3 separate regions of the Homo sapiens genome follow, and regions 2 and 3 are each linked to region 1. The links are contacts of gene promoters, found by promoter capture Hi-C in blood cells and fetal thymus (Javierre and others, 2016). All regions are on one chromosome and are shown on one strand. Each heading gives the region's core, a stretch centred on a gene start or on the middle of the fragment in contact. The rest is flanking DNA. Distances are from core to core; before and after follow the strand shown. Region 1 holds the start of PIK3CB (phosphatidylinositol-4,5-bisphosphate 3-kinase catalytic subunit beta). Region 2 has its middle 13 kb from the start of LINC01391. Region 3 overlaps LOC124906289 (a long non-coding RNA gene).

Evidence for each region. Contacts are between HindIII fragments. The CHiCAGO score rates a contact against its expected background, and 5 or more counts as called.
Region 2: a fragment that was not itself captured here is called in contact with the fragment with the promoter of PIK3CB in region 1 in 1 of 17 cell types (neutrophils); the score reaches 5.3 in neutrophils.
Region 3: a contact is called between a fragment that was not itself captured here and the fragment with the promoter of PIK3CB in region 1, in 4 of 17 cell types (neutrophils, endothelial precursors, monocytes and 1 more). The highest score is 7.8, in neutrophils.

The regions. Positions count from the first base shown.
Region 1 is chr3:138,832,645-138,837,012 of GRCh38, forward strand. PIK3CB (phosphatidylinositol-4,5-bisphosphate 3-kinase catalytic subunit beta) reads right to left here and starts at 2,284. Exons shown (of 24, transcript NM_006219.3): 1 at 2,051-2,284. RefSeq lists a silencer at 1,781-2,520. The HindIII fragment of the contact is 25,969 bases long and covers 1-4,368 here.
Region 2 is chr3:138,928,645-138,933,012 of GRCh38, forward strand. No RefSeq gene overlaps it. Among named protein-coding and RNA genes, the nearest start is that of LINC01391, 13 kb to the right of the region's middle. The HindIII fragment of the contact is 6,746 bases long and covers 1-4,368 here.
Region 3 is chr3:138,897,410-138,901,777 of GRCh38, forward strand. LOC124906289 (a long non-coding RNA gene) reads right to left here. Exons shown (of 2, transcript XR_007096114.1): 2 at 2,346-2,685. Among named protein-coding and RNA genes, the nearest start is that of LINC01391, 44 kb to the right of the region's middle. The HindIII fragment of the contact is 764 bases long and covers 1,435-2,198 here.

The DNA.
Region 1 (4,368 bases), core at 1,034-3,533:
GGAGAAACCCCGTCTCTACCAAAAAAAGTACAAAATTAGCCGCGTGTGGTGGCACATGCCTGTAATCCCAACTACTCGGGAGGCTATGGCAGGAGAATCGCTTGAACCCGGGAGGCGGAGGTTGCGGTGAGCTGGAGATCGCGTCATTGCACTCCAGCCTGGACAACAAAAGCGAAACTCCGTCTCAAAAAAAAAAAAAAAAAAACAAAATTGAAAGATTGGCCAGGCGTGGTGGCACGCCCCTGTAGTCTCAGCCACTAGGGAGCCTGAGGCAGGAGGATCGCTTGAACCCAGGAGGCGGAGGTTGCAGTGAGCCAAGATGGCGACATTGCACTCCAGCCTGGGCGACAGACCGAGACCCTGCCTCAAAAAACAACAATAATTTTTTTTTAAAAAAGAAGCAAGATTCGGTCTCAAAAAGATTTTTTTTTTTTCTTTTTGAGACAGGGTATCCCTCTGTTGCCCAGGCTGGAGTCCAGTGGTGCCATCTCGGCTCACTGCAACCTCCGCCTCCCGGGTTCAAGGGATTCTCCTGCCTCAGCCTCCCAAGTAGCTGGGATTACAAGCGCCCGCCACCACGCCCTGCTAATTTTTGTGTTTTTGGTAGAGACGGGGTTTCACCATGTTGCTTGGGCTGGTGTCGAACTCCTGGAATCAATTGATCCGCCCGCCTCGGCCTCCCAAAGTGCTGGGATTACAGGCGTGAGCCAACGCACCTGGTCAGAAAAAAGACTTTACTTTCTTCCATACCTGCATTCTGAAACTGGGTTAAGATCCTTATCTGACCACCCTTTCCTGTGCTACATTATTATGACTTAAACAGTTCTGCTTTTACCATAAAATCTTACAATGTAGCATAAAAATCCCCAAATGATTAATGAACTGCTGAGACCTCTGACTCGTTGGAGACAATTTTATTACGAATCATATCTCCAAACTTCCATTCAGTGCTTCAAAATAAGTACTCATTTAATTATCATGACTTCACCAGACAGTCACACTGCCCACAATGATGTTTACAAAAGCACTTGTCACTCCCTTTGGATGTAGCAATGCAGAAAAAAGAGTCTGTTTCCATACTCTTCGTGTGTTTATAACTCTGTAACAAGTGGCAGAGTTCAAGTGTCACTTGAGATGAAACAGCAAAGCACTTCAAGTTTACGTCCCACCATCTTTCATCCTAAGCGAATCCCGAATTTGCTCGGTTTCATTTCAGCAGTAATTCCCACTCAGTACCTGAGACAGGGTTCCAATTCAGCCCTGCGGGAAGAGACTGCAGGATTCTAGTAAGGGACTATAGGATTCTATTTTGGCCACTGCGAGGTTAACAGGCTCCAATATTAAGCAACTCCAGTATCGGTTACTGCAACACCAGAGCAGATCGGAAATAAATGTGCCCCCAAACGCACGCCAGCAGCCAGGAATTAGCAATAGCTAACACGAGATGCTGCAGCAGGGGTATCATTTACTTAGCACTTGTTCAGTTATGCCTAACCTCACAACAACCTTATGGTGTATGTATTATTATTTCCATTTAACACATCAGGATATTTTGGCCCAAGGCCCCAGGACTGGTCAGCAGCGGCGTTGGGATTCGAAAACATGTCCATAACCTAATAACCCTGGGTCCACGCCTCTGAAATACACTTCTGCGCAAAAAGGCACCTGAGGGTCGGGAAGTTCCGGAGGTGTCCGCATAGACGCGGGGCGCGAGTACGCCGTCTCTCCACAGAAACGCCCCTCAGGAACGGGACCCAAAGCGACAGTGACCCGGGACGCCCGGCAGCGTCTCTGCCGCCCAGGGGCCGGGGGGCGCCACTCACCTTGGAGAGCCCAGGGCGGGCCGCAACCAAGCCAGACGCCCCCACCGGCCGGTAGGCGGTTATCCTCCAAGCTGGCAGGAAGCGCGGTGCAACCACAAGAGTCGCCAGCGCCGCAGGTAGCGGCAAGCTAGAACGCACCGCCAGCACGCCCGGGGGCACCGCAGCCGGCGCCGCGACCCAGCCGCCCCTCAGCCGCGCCGCATCCGGGTCCCGGCCGCCGCACTCACCTGCCTGGCGTTCCGCCGCCGCCGCCTGCTACTATTCCAAGTGCGCAGTCAGCAGCCCAGGCCGCCGCAACCGCTCCACTCCGGCGCCCCCATCCCTGCCTCTCTCGATCACCTCCCGCCTGCCCCGCGCAGCACTACACTCGCCCCCTCCCCACTGCCATGGCCCGCTCCGCCGCAGCGCCGCACAGGCCGACAGAGCACGCGCGCGCCGCCGCCGAACCCGCGCCCGTGTGCGCGCGCGCCAGCCTCTCAGGCCTGCATCCCAGCAGCCCCCGCCCCGCCCTGCGCCGCCCTCGGGCCAATCCCGGGCCCCGCGGTGGCGGCGGCGGCGGCGGCGGCAGTTGGGCTGGCAGGGTGTGGGGAGAGGCCTCACTGCCGATTCCTCTACCGTTGCCAGCCCGGCTGCGACGCTGCTGCACGGCCTTTCCTAACTCTCTTTGCGACTCCCAGAGGACTGCGGAATAGGGAATCCCCGGCAAGTCGCCTTCAGGAGAGACCCATCACCCGCTGCGGCCTCCATAACCTCCTCCCGAGAGATTCCGCTCTTCCTAGGTTCCTTGCTGGCCTTTTCTTCCCAGCCCTTCTCCCTGTTCTGCGACATGGACTGACTCCTAAATTCTTGGACGCAGCACTTATTTTTTTCCCGATACCCGTCTCCGTCTTTCACTCCCTTTGTGAGGATAGGGCGCTAGCTCGGCTGCCTCACAGCTGGCCCTTCAGTCCCTACACTGTGAATGGTTGTTTCTAGGGAAAAGTCCAGGCTTTCAAGCCCAAGATTCTTGTTCTTTGTTCAATTTTGCAGTAACAACACCTAACATTTGTCTGCAGAGCCTTAAACTTTACCCCTTTTTGCCTACCTTGTTTCCTGTTACCTTTGACCCCAACCGCGAAAAATCACAGTCCTCTTTCTAGTGGGACACTTAAATTTTACTTACTGAAAACCAACATTTTAACTCACTCCAAAGCTAGTATATTCTAACGTAATGCTCCTATATTACCCTGGACAAATAGTTGAGTAGTCAGGGATAAAATCTAGAAGTACAACATAATAAAAAGCAAACGTGACAAATCAATTAAGTGACAAACCAATAGTTTATTTGAGAAATGATCCTAGTTTTTTTATTTTTTATTTATTTACTTATTTTGAATGAGAGTTTCGCTACTGTTGCCCAGGCTGGAGTGCAATGGCGCGATCTTGGCTCACCGCAACTCTGCGTCCCCCGGTCAAGCGATTCTCCTGCCTCAGCCTTCCTGAGGATTACAGGCATGCGCCACCACGCCTGGCTAATTTTGTATTTTTAGTAGAGACGGGGTTTCTCCACGTTGGTCAGGCTGGTCTCGAACTCCCGACCTCAGGTGATCAGCCCGCCTCGGCCTCCCAAAGGGCTGGGATTACAGACATGAGCCACCGTGCCCGGCCAATGATCCTGGTTTTAATTGACTTTCGATTTAAAGCAAGAACATTGAAAAATAAATTCCAGAAGAGGCTGTAATACCAACACTTTGGGAGGCCGAGGTGGGCAGATCACTTGAGCCCAGGAGTTCACACCTAGCCTGGGCAATATGGCGAGACTGACAAAAATGACGTGAGTGTGGTGATGTGCATCTGTTGTCCCAGCTACTTGGGAGACTGAGGTGGGAGGATAATATGAACCCAGGAAGTCGAGGGAAGTCGAGGCTGGTGTGAGTCGAGATAGCACGGTAGCACCACTGCACTCCAGCCCGGGAAATAGAGCAAGACCCTGTCTAGGAAAAAAAAAAAAAATCCAGAAGAATTAAAAAATATAAAAATTTACAAAACAGAAACTTAAGAGGAAAAAAAAATTTTTTTTTGAGACAGTCTCATTCTGTTGCCCAGGCTGGAGTGCAGTGGCACCATCTCAGCTCATGGCAACCTCCACCTCCCAGGTTCAAGCAGTTCTCTTGCCTCAACCTCCAGAGTAGCTGGGATTACAGGCACCCGCCACCACACACGCCTAATTTTTTTTTTCTTTTTTTGAGACGGAGTCTTGCTCTGTCGTCAGGCTGTAGTACAGTGGCACAATCTCGGCTCACTGCAACCTCCGCCTCCTGAATTCAAGGGATTCCCCTGCCTCAGCCTCCCAAGTAGCTGGGACTGCAGGCGCGCACCACCATGCCCGGCTAATTTTTTGTTTTTTAGTAGAGACGGGATTTCCCTGTGTTGGCCGGGATGGTCTCCATCTCTTGACTTCGTGATCTGCCCGCCTCAGCCTCCCAAAAGTGATGTGATTACTGGCCAATGAGGCAGAAATTTTAAGCAAGACAGGAAGCCCAGAACCATTATAGAAAAAAGAAAA
Region 2 (4,368 bases), core at 1,162-3,661, 96 kb after region 1:
GGGCCTGTGTATTTACTTCCCCTGAAGAGACAAGGGCCTGTAGCCCTCTTTTGGGGTCAGCGTCTGACACTAAACAGAGTCACTCATGGCTGTGACTTCCAGGCAGTGGACACGAGCTCTTCGGACTGCCAAGGCTGGCTCCAGCCACCCAGTTCCGCTTTTCTCTGGGGCCATCTGTAACAGTGCGGGGGGACGTGGGGTGGTCCCTGGGTGTCGCGGCGCAGAGCCCGGTCAGATGCGTGCCATTAGTGGAGACAAGCTCTGCATGGAGCTGGTGGCCTAATGGGGACCACGCTCGCCCTAATGCGAAGCAGCCGCCGCACCGCGGCCGAGCCTCTTCCTACTGGGCATGAGAGCTGACGAGATAGAACGGAAGAGCCACGAAAGGCCCTTTGATTCCAATACGAAACAAATTATTACTCCCGGAATGGAACAAAATAAGCCAGAGAGGAATCTCAAGGCCACCCACCATTCCTCCCTGCGAGGCTGCCGCCGACGGCCCCGGGCCTGCCTATCCTGCGATCTTTGGCGGGGACACGGAGACACGGCACTGAGGGGCTCCGGGCGACTGGGGCGGGGAAGTCGGAGTTCCTGGCCAACGGCCCGCGGGGGCCTGGATCCTTTGTTTGTTGGGGCACCCCAAGGTCAGTGGTCCTCAAACTTGAGTGAGGGAGCCTCCGCATCTCGTGGAGAGCTTGTTACAGGGCGAATTCCTGGGCCCCACCTCCAGAGTTTTTGATTTTGCAGGTGGAGTGGAGGTTGAGAATTTGCATTTTTTCAGGGAATGCTGGTGCTATCGGTCCAGGGAAAACTCTCTGAGAACCAGCTAGTAAATATGGAGATGGAAGCAACTTGGCCTTGAGTCTCCCACTACCACTATCCTGGCATTCAGATGGCTAAGTCCCAGAGAGGTCTGCAGTGGGTAAACTATCTAATACAGCCCTCCCACCCCCCACCTACGAAGTCAACAAGTGATGCATGTGCCTAGCTTCTTTCATCCCCTTTGGAGCCTGTTTTTGATTGGTCACTCCTGTCCTATAGTGAACCAACCAAGTCCCACCCCAAAACTCAGGGACTGGAATTTCCCAGCACCCTGGGCAGGTAAATGGGCAGCTGCCAAAGGCCTGTGAGAAAAAACTGGTAACAGCTTCAGGACTCCAGGCAGCCTCTCTGGGGGATGCTTCTGCTCAAGTTGCCTAGCCTCTAGAGAAGGTTCCTGGCTCTCTGTCACTGGCCTGGGCCAGCAGTCATTCCTGGCAAGAGGAGTTTGGGGGTGAGGGGTAGGGAGTAGGGAGTAGGAAGGGGAGACTGGTGGCTGGGGGGACAGTGGCAACAATTCTTGTTGGGGTAACATCAGAATTCCTGCCTGGCTTCTTGGAAACCATTCAGGGATCTAAAAGCCTGAAAGTGTTTCTTTTTTTGTTTGTTTGTTTTTTAGAGACAAGGTCTTGCTGCTGCCCAGGCTGGAGTGCAGCGGCACAATCATAGCTCCGCAGCCTCATACTACTGGGCTCCATGGATCCTCCCAAGTAGTTGGGATTATAGGCATGAGCTACCAAGCCCGGCCAGTGCCTAATTTTTAAATTCTTTGTAGAGATGGTGGGGGGCGGGGAGGGGGTGGTCTCGTTATGTTGCCCAGGCTGGTCTCAAACTCCTGGCCTCAAGTTATCCTCCCGTTTCTGCCGCTCAAAATGCTGGGATAACAGGCATGAGCCACCGCACCCAGCCATGTGTTTTAGGTGCAGGATGTGTGGGATGAGGGCTTCCCTAGAGTAAACCATTTGTTTTCAAACTTGAGTTTGCATCCGGATCACCTGGAGGCCTTCGTAAGACAGACTGCTGGCTCCACCCTAGAGTTGCTGATTCAGTGGGGCTGAGGTGGGGTTGAGAGTTTGCATTTCTAACAAGGTCCTAGGTGCTGCTGATGATTTGGGTTCCACACTTTGAAAATCACAGCCCTAGACTTCATTTGGGATCTCCAAGCCCTCTCTATAGTTTCAAATGTCATGGTATCTGTCCCCAGCCCCACTCTCTGGACATCCTCCATCAGTCACTGGTCTTTGTGTTGATCACCTTTCTCCGCTTTTGAAAAGGCAGTTTGGTCTTGTCTTGTGCTGCCTGTGCTCTCTGGTTCTGGAAGCAGGAAACAGCTCTCAGGGTGATTCAGCCATGGGAAGAGCAGCATCCCTCATACCCCACCCTCATTCTTGCACCCAGCCAGGCAGGACAGCTCCCTTCTATTTGCTGCCATCCCTCACCCTCTATAATTGCTTGAGTCCTAGCCCTGGGTTAAGCTAAAAAGAATAGACAGCTGAGGAAAGATCCCTTTAATAGGCACCTTAGTATCCATGCAAGGCCAAGCCTAGAGGGGTTGCTGTTGCATTTCTCCCAGTGACAAGATCTCTGAAGTGATCCTTCTTTTTTTACCTTGTGCTTTGCACATCATAGCTATTTATGAACTATTTGTTGATTGACTAATTGCTTAGGGAAAACTATAAGGAAGGGAAACAAAGCAAAATAAAGATATTCTTCAAGGCTGCCATGCACTAGGACAAAGTTTTGTTTGTTTTTTTTGAGGAGTCTTGCTCTGTCACCCAGGCTGGAGTGCAGTGGTGCCATCTCGGCTCACTGCAACCTCCACCTCTTAGGCTCAAGCCATTCTCCTGCTTCAGCCTCCCAAGTAGCTGGGACTACAGGCATGCACCACCATGCCTGGCCATTTTTTTTTTTTTCATTTTTAGTAGAGACTAGGTTTCACCATGTTGACCAGGCTGGTATTGAACTCCTGACCTCAGATGATCTGTCTGCCTCAGTCTCCCAAAATGCTGGGATTATAGGCATGAGCCACTACACCTGGACTAGGACAAAGTTTTCATCAGTGTTTGCCAGCTTGACTGAAGGGGTAGAGTTTATCCTCTTTGGCCTCCAGAAAATGTGTCAGAAGCTCCTGGGTGGGAACCCTGAAGCACAGGCCTGTGGGCAGGGGCAAGCAAGATCAGTGTAATTCGGGTTTTTTTGGGGGGGCTTTGAGACTACCCTGGCAAGCTGGAGACCCTGGAAAAGAAGGGGCTGGTGGTCTATAGGGGCCTGAGGGTCAGCTGAGGCCATGCGGAGCCATCCTATGTTCTGGTGCCTCAGGATTTCCAGAAAGGCAAGTTTTTTACAAAAGGAACTTAACATAACATTTATGTCAAGAAGTTTAGAAAATGTCAAATGTGAATAATCATGGCATTTGAAATTTGGACTAGGGTATGTACAATTTAGATGAAAATAAGCCATGTGCAAACCATTAGATTTTAATAATTTTTCTCTTCATTGGATATTTTGAAGCTATATCTTTAGCAAATGGCTAAATTGGCTGTAGGTTCCCTATTTAGTTATTGCCATGGTTCTTTTTTTGTGGGGGACAGAGTCTCACTCTGTTGCCCAGGCTGGAGTGCAGTGGTGTGATCTCGGCTCACTACAACCTCTGCCCCCCGAGTTCAAGCAATTCTCCTGTCTCAGCCTTCTGAGTATCTGGGACTACAGACATGTGCCACCATGCCCGGCTAATGTTTGTATATTTAGTAGAGACAGGGTTTCACCATGTTGGCTAGGCTGGTCTCAAACTCCTGACCTCAGGTGATCTGCCTGCCTCAGCCTCCCAAAGTGCTGTGATTACAGGCATGAGCCACTGCTCCTGGCTGTGGTTCTTAACCTTAGCTGTACATTGGAATCACCAGCATTGCTTAAAAAAATAATCTCAATACCCTGGCTACACCCAAGACATGGAGGTAAGACACAATATTTTTTTTTTTTTTTTTTTTCGAGATGGAGTCTCCCTCTGTTGCCTAGGCTGGAGTGCAGTGGCGCGATCTCGGCTCACTGCAAGCTCTGCCTCCCGGGTTCATGCCATTCTCCTGCCTCAGCCTCCCAAGTAGCTGGGACTACAGGCGCCCACCACCACACTCGGCTAATTTTTTGTATTTTTAGTAGAGATGGGGTTTCATGGTGTTAGCCACGATGGTCTCGATCTCCTGACCTCGTGATCCACCTGCCTCGGCCTCCCAAAGTGCTGGGATTACAGGCGTGAGCCACCGCGCCCAGCCAAGGCACAATAGGTTTTTAAAGCCCCTGAGGCAATTTTGTAGTGCAGCTAGGATCAAAAATCCTTGAGCTATTGATTGAGTGGTTGGACAGGCTAGACTGAAACAAATGACTTCCTGGGGTGTCTGCTTAGCCTCTCATGAGTGCCATGACTGCCCTCTTCCCACAAGGAGCGACCATCAGAAGCTACCAGCAGACCCTCTTCCTCAGCTCCAGTTGACAGGACTGGGGTGTATCTCCAGGACAGTACCTGACCCAGGATACCAATCAGCTTTCTCACAC
Region 3 (4,368 bases), core at 567-3,066, 64 kb after region 1:
CAGGAAATACTGTGTGCCCACAGAGGAGGCAATGTGAAGGGAAGTTAACTCGATCATGAAACAGACAGGAGAGAGAAATCAGCAGAACTGTGGCTCTGAGGACTCTGAGTGGGACTCAGCAAAGGCACACCAGGCCACCAAGTGCCCTGTCCCTGCCGCTCTGACTGCCCATCCTTTGCTCCTGTAGAGCTTGACTGGATACCCTGTTTCCCTCTGCTGACCAATTCAACCCAGGGTCCTATATGGTGATCTTCAAGAAGCCAGCCAGAGCTGGCTGGGTGCGGTGGCTCATGCCTGTAATCCCAGCACTTTGGGAGGCCAAGATGGGTGGATCACCTGAGGTTGGGAGTTCGAGACCCGCCTGACCAACATGGTGAAACCCCATCTCTACTAAAAATACAAAAATTAGCCAGGTGTGGTGGTACGTGCCTGAAATCTCAGCTACTCAGGAGGCTGAGGCAGGAGAATCGCTTGAATCCGGGAGGCGGAGGTTGCAGTGAGCCGAGATCGCACCACTGTACTCCAGCCTGGTGACAGAGTGAGACTCTGTCTAAAAAAAAAAAAAGAAGCCAGCACAGGTGAATGACCCTCCCTTAGGACCAAGTGAAGAGAGCAGTTTCCTTCTGAGCTTTGGAGCTGCGTCCTCTAGAGGGAGGGAATTCAGTGGAGCAGCGAAGTTCTTCAAACTGGGGCGAGAGAGGGAAACTAAGGAAGGGTTGTAGGTGTGGCCTGGCCTGGGATCCTTTCTACTCTTGTGCCACTCTAGGGTCCATCCTTCTCCCTCTCCCTATAGGGGAGATGCAGAAGCTGCTCTCTAGAGCCTAGGTCTTCTGCCTGCTTTGGGAGTCCTTCCAGGAGTTTGTAGTTTGTTCCCCTGTCTCTTATTAGCCATTTTTTCAGTAGGTACCTAAGGCCTGGTTCCTTCCTCTTGGTCACTCAGGAGCTCTTCTCCAGACTGGCTAAAGCAGTATGGTTTGGGAAAAGCACTTGGCTGGGTCTCCTACATGTTGAGTTCAATTTCCTCCTTTGGGTGTGTTTTAGCTTCCAGCTGGGATTTTTGCCATAGTAATTATAACAACCACACTCTGCATAGAGACTCTAAAAGCTATATAGGCAAACACATAAATAGAAAGGAATTCCTAAGGCAAGCCAAGTAGTTATCAGAATCTCCACCCCTACCAGAGTCGGAAGCTCTGTACTTGCCTCCTGGTAACTGCTTAGTGAGAATTATTTAGCCAGCTTGGATTCTTTCTACAACCACATTGAAATCAGATATCCTGAGGGAAGGGGAAGGTTTATCCCACCCCAACCCTGTTCCTCTCCAAGCCTTTCTCATCTAGCCAACAGCACTGTCATTCACATGTCTGCTTGAGACAAAAACCTAGAGGTTTGCTTTTATTCTTCCTTGTCCCTCACCTCTCATCTTATCAGCAAAGCTTATTGCCTCTACAAAATGTGCCTGGAGTCTATCTTCTTCTCCTCACTATTGGGTGTCAACTGTGTTCATCTTGGACAATTGCTAACTGATCTCCTTGCTTCCACTGTTGGTTCTTTCTTTCTTTCTTTCATCCTTTCTTCCTTCCCTCCCTCCCTCCTTCCTTCCTTCTTTTCTTTCTTTCTTCCTTTCTTTCCTTTTTTTTTTTTTCCTTTTGATTCAGTCTTGCTCTATTACCCAGGCTGGAGTGCAGTGGCATGATCTCAGCTCACTGCAACTTCTGCCTCCCCAGCTCAAGTGATCCTCCCACCTCAGCCTCCTGAGGAGTTGGGACTACAGGTGCACACCACAATGCCCAGCTAATTTTTGTATTTTTTGTAGAGACAAGGTTTTGCCATGTTGCCCAGGCTGGTCTTGAATTCCTGGGCTCAAGCTCTTCACCCTCCTCGGCCTCCCAAAGTGCTGGGATTACACGCATGAGCCACCGTGCCCAGCATCTGCTTCCACTTTCATACTGCTACGTATCATTCTCCCCATAGCTTCTGGAGCCATCTTTTAAGACAATAAATCCCATCATTGCCTTGCTCACAACCCTTGTTGGCTCTTGCGGCTATGAGGAGAATGAACTCCTACTGAACTTTTGATCATTTCAGACTTCTTCATGGCCCAAGAGGCTTTAATGTGGCTCAGCCTTCCTCTCCAACCACGCTTCTTAGGGCTCTCCCCCTCAGCTACCTGACCGTCTCTGTTCCTCAGTGTGCCAAGCTTGTTCCTGTCTTCAAGCCATGGGATTTGTTGTTGGCTATGCTTAAAATGCTCTATGAAGATTTCCTCATGGCTGACTCCTTGGTATTTAGGCCTGAGTTCAGTTACTATTGCTCCATAGTGAAACACTCCAAAACTCAGTGGCTTCAAAACAACAATCATTTATTTTGCTCATATATCTGTATTTTGGGCAGGGCTTCATGGGGAAGGCTCATTTTGCTCCATGCACCATCAGCTGGGGCAAATCAGCTAACTGAGAATTTGCCTCTGAGTTGGCTCACTCACATGGCAGTCCTCTATGAGTTAAGCAAGGGTTGAAGGCTGGGGCTTTAGCTATTCTCCACGTAGCTAGGCTCCTGGGAATGTGTCCTAAAAGAGTTGGGTAGAGGCTGGGCACGGTGGCTCACGCTTGTAATCCCTACACTTTGGGAAGCTTCAGCTCAGGTGTTCGAGAGCAGCCTGGGCAACATGGTGAAACCCCGTCTCTACAAAAAAAAAATACAAAAATTAGCTGAGCATGGTGACGTGTGCCTGTAATCCCAACTGCTTGGGAGGCTGAGGCATGAGAATTGCTTCAGCCCAGGAAGCAGAGGTTGCAGTGAGCTGAGATCATGCCACTGCATGGCATGGCATGTCATCCAACCTGGACAACAGAGTGAGACTCTGTCTCAAAAAAAACAAAACAAAAGTCAGGTGGAAGCTGTAATGTCTTTTCTGACCTAGCCTTGGGAGTTCTGTTGTATTTTATTAGTTGAGAAGACCAAAAGACCCATGGGAATTCAACTGAAGGGAACACAGAGTCTGCCACTTGAGGGAGTGGCAGGGTTCTGAAACAGCGTGTGGAAATTGAAATATTGTTTTTCTGGATAATTTTTGGGAAATACTATCTGCCACAGCTACTGCCACAGTGCAGTCTTCACTGACTGCTCTCTATGTATTAACCACTCCTCTACACCCCAAACAGCTATTCTCTACCATTTCAACATCTGCTTCCTCATAGCACCTGCCATTCTCTTGTTCCTTGATGTATTTGCTCACTTGCAGCCTTATAGAAGAATATAAGCTCCCTGAGAGCAGAAGTCTTGCATGAAGGGAGACCAGATGGAAGGCTGTTGCACAAAGGTCTGGCAGTTGCAGACAGAAAGGCATTGGCTATTTAGAGACATGTGTAAGGAGGGAGAGGTTGGTATTTAGTGATTGATTGACTATGGGGGATGACAGGATGAAGGTGGACACTGGGTTGCCAGTCCATCTCAGATCGAGGACTGGCATGGGACTGAGGGTATGCATACTTTAGGATTGCCTGGCAAAGGCCACGCTCAGACCTGTCCTACTGGAGGGGTAAGTGGTGCTTACCATATGTGTGGAGAGACTGACTAGATGCTCACCAAAACCCTTTCTTCTCCTTCCTAAGCTTCTAGCTAGGTCACACTTCCTAGCTCTCTTGCAGCTAGATAGGAAATCATATAAAGTTATGGCAAAAAAAATATAAGTAGGAGCTGACATATAGCACTCTGAAGCTTGGCCTATTAAAAACCATCCTGGAAAATTCTTTTTTTTTTGAGACTGAGTTTCGCTGTTGTTGCCCAGGCGGGAGTGTAATGGCTCGATCTTGGCTCACTGCCACCTCCACCTCCTGGGTTCAAGTAATTTTCCTGCCTCAGCCTCCTGAGTAGCTAGGATTACAGGCACACACCACCATGCCCGGCTCATTTTTTGTATTTTTAGTAGAGACGGGGTTTCACCATGTTGGCCAGGGTGGTCTTGAACTCCTGACACCCGGCCCATCCGGTAAGATTCTGCGTGGTGGCCGGGCGTGGTTGCTCTTGCCTGTAATCCCAGCACTTTGGGAGGCCAAGGCGGGCAGATCACCTGAGGTCAGGAGTTCCAGACCAGCCTGGCTAACATGGTGAAACCCCATTTCTACTAAAAATACAAAAAATTAGCCCGGCGTGGGCGCGCACCTGTAGTGCCTGTAATCCCAGCTACTTGGGAGGCTGAGTCAGGAGAATTGCTTGAACCCGGGAGGCGGAGGTTGCAGTGAGCCGAGAGCATGCCATTGCACTCCAGCTTGAGCAACAAGAGTGAAACTTCGTCTCAAAAAAAAAAAAAAAAAAAAAGATTCTGCATGTTCCCTTCCTGTTCCTGGGTGGCCTTGTAGGAAGTGT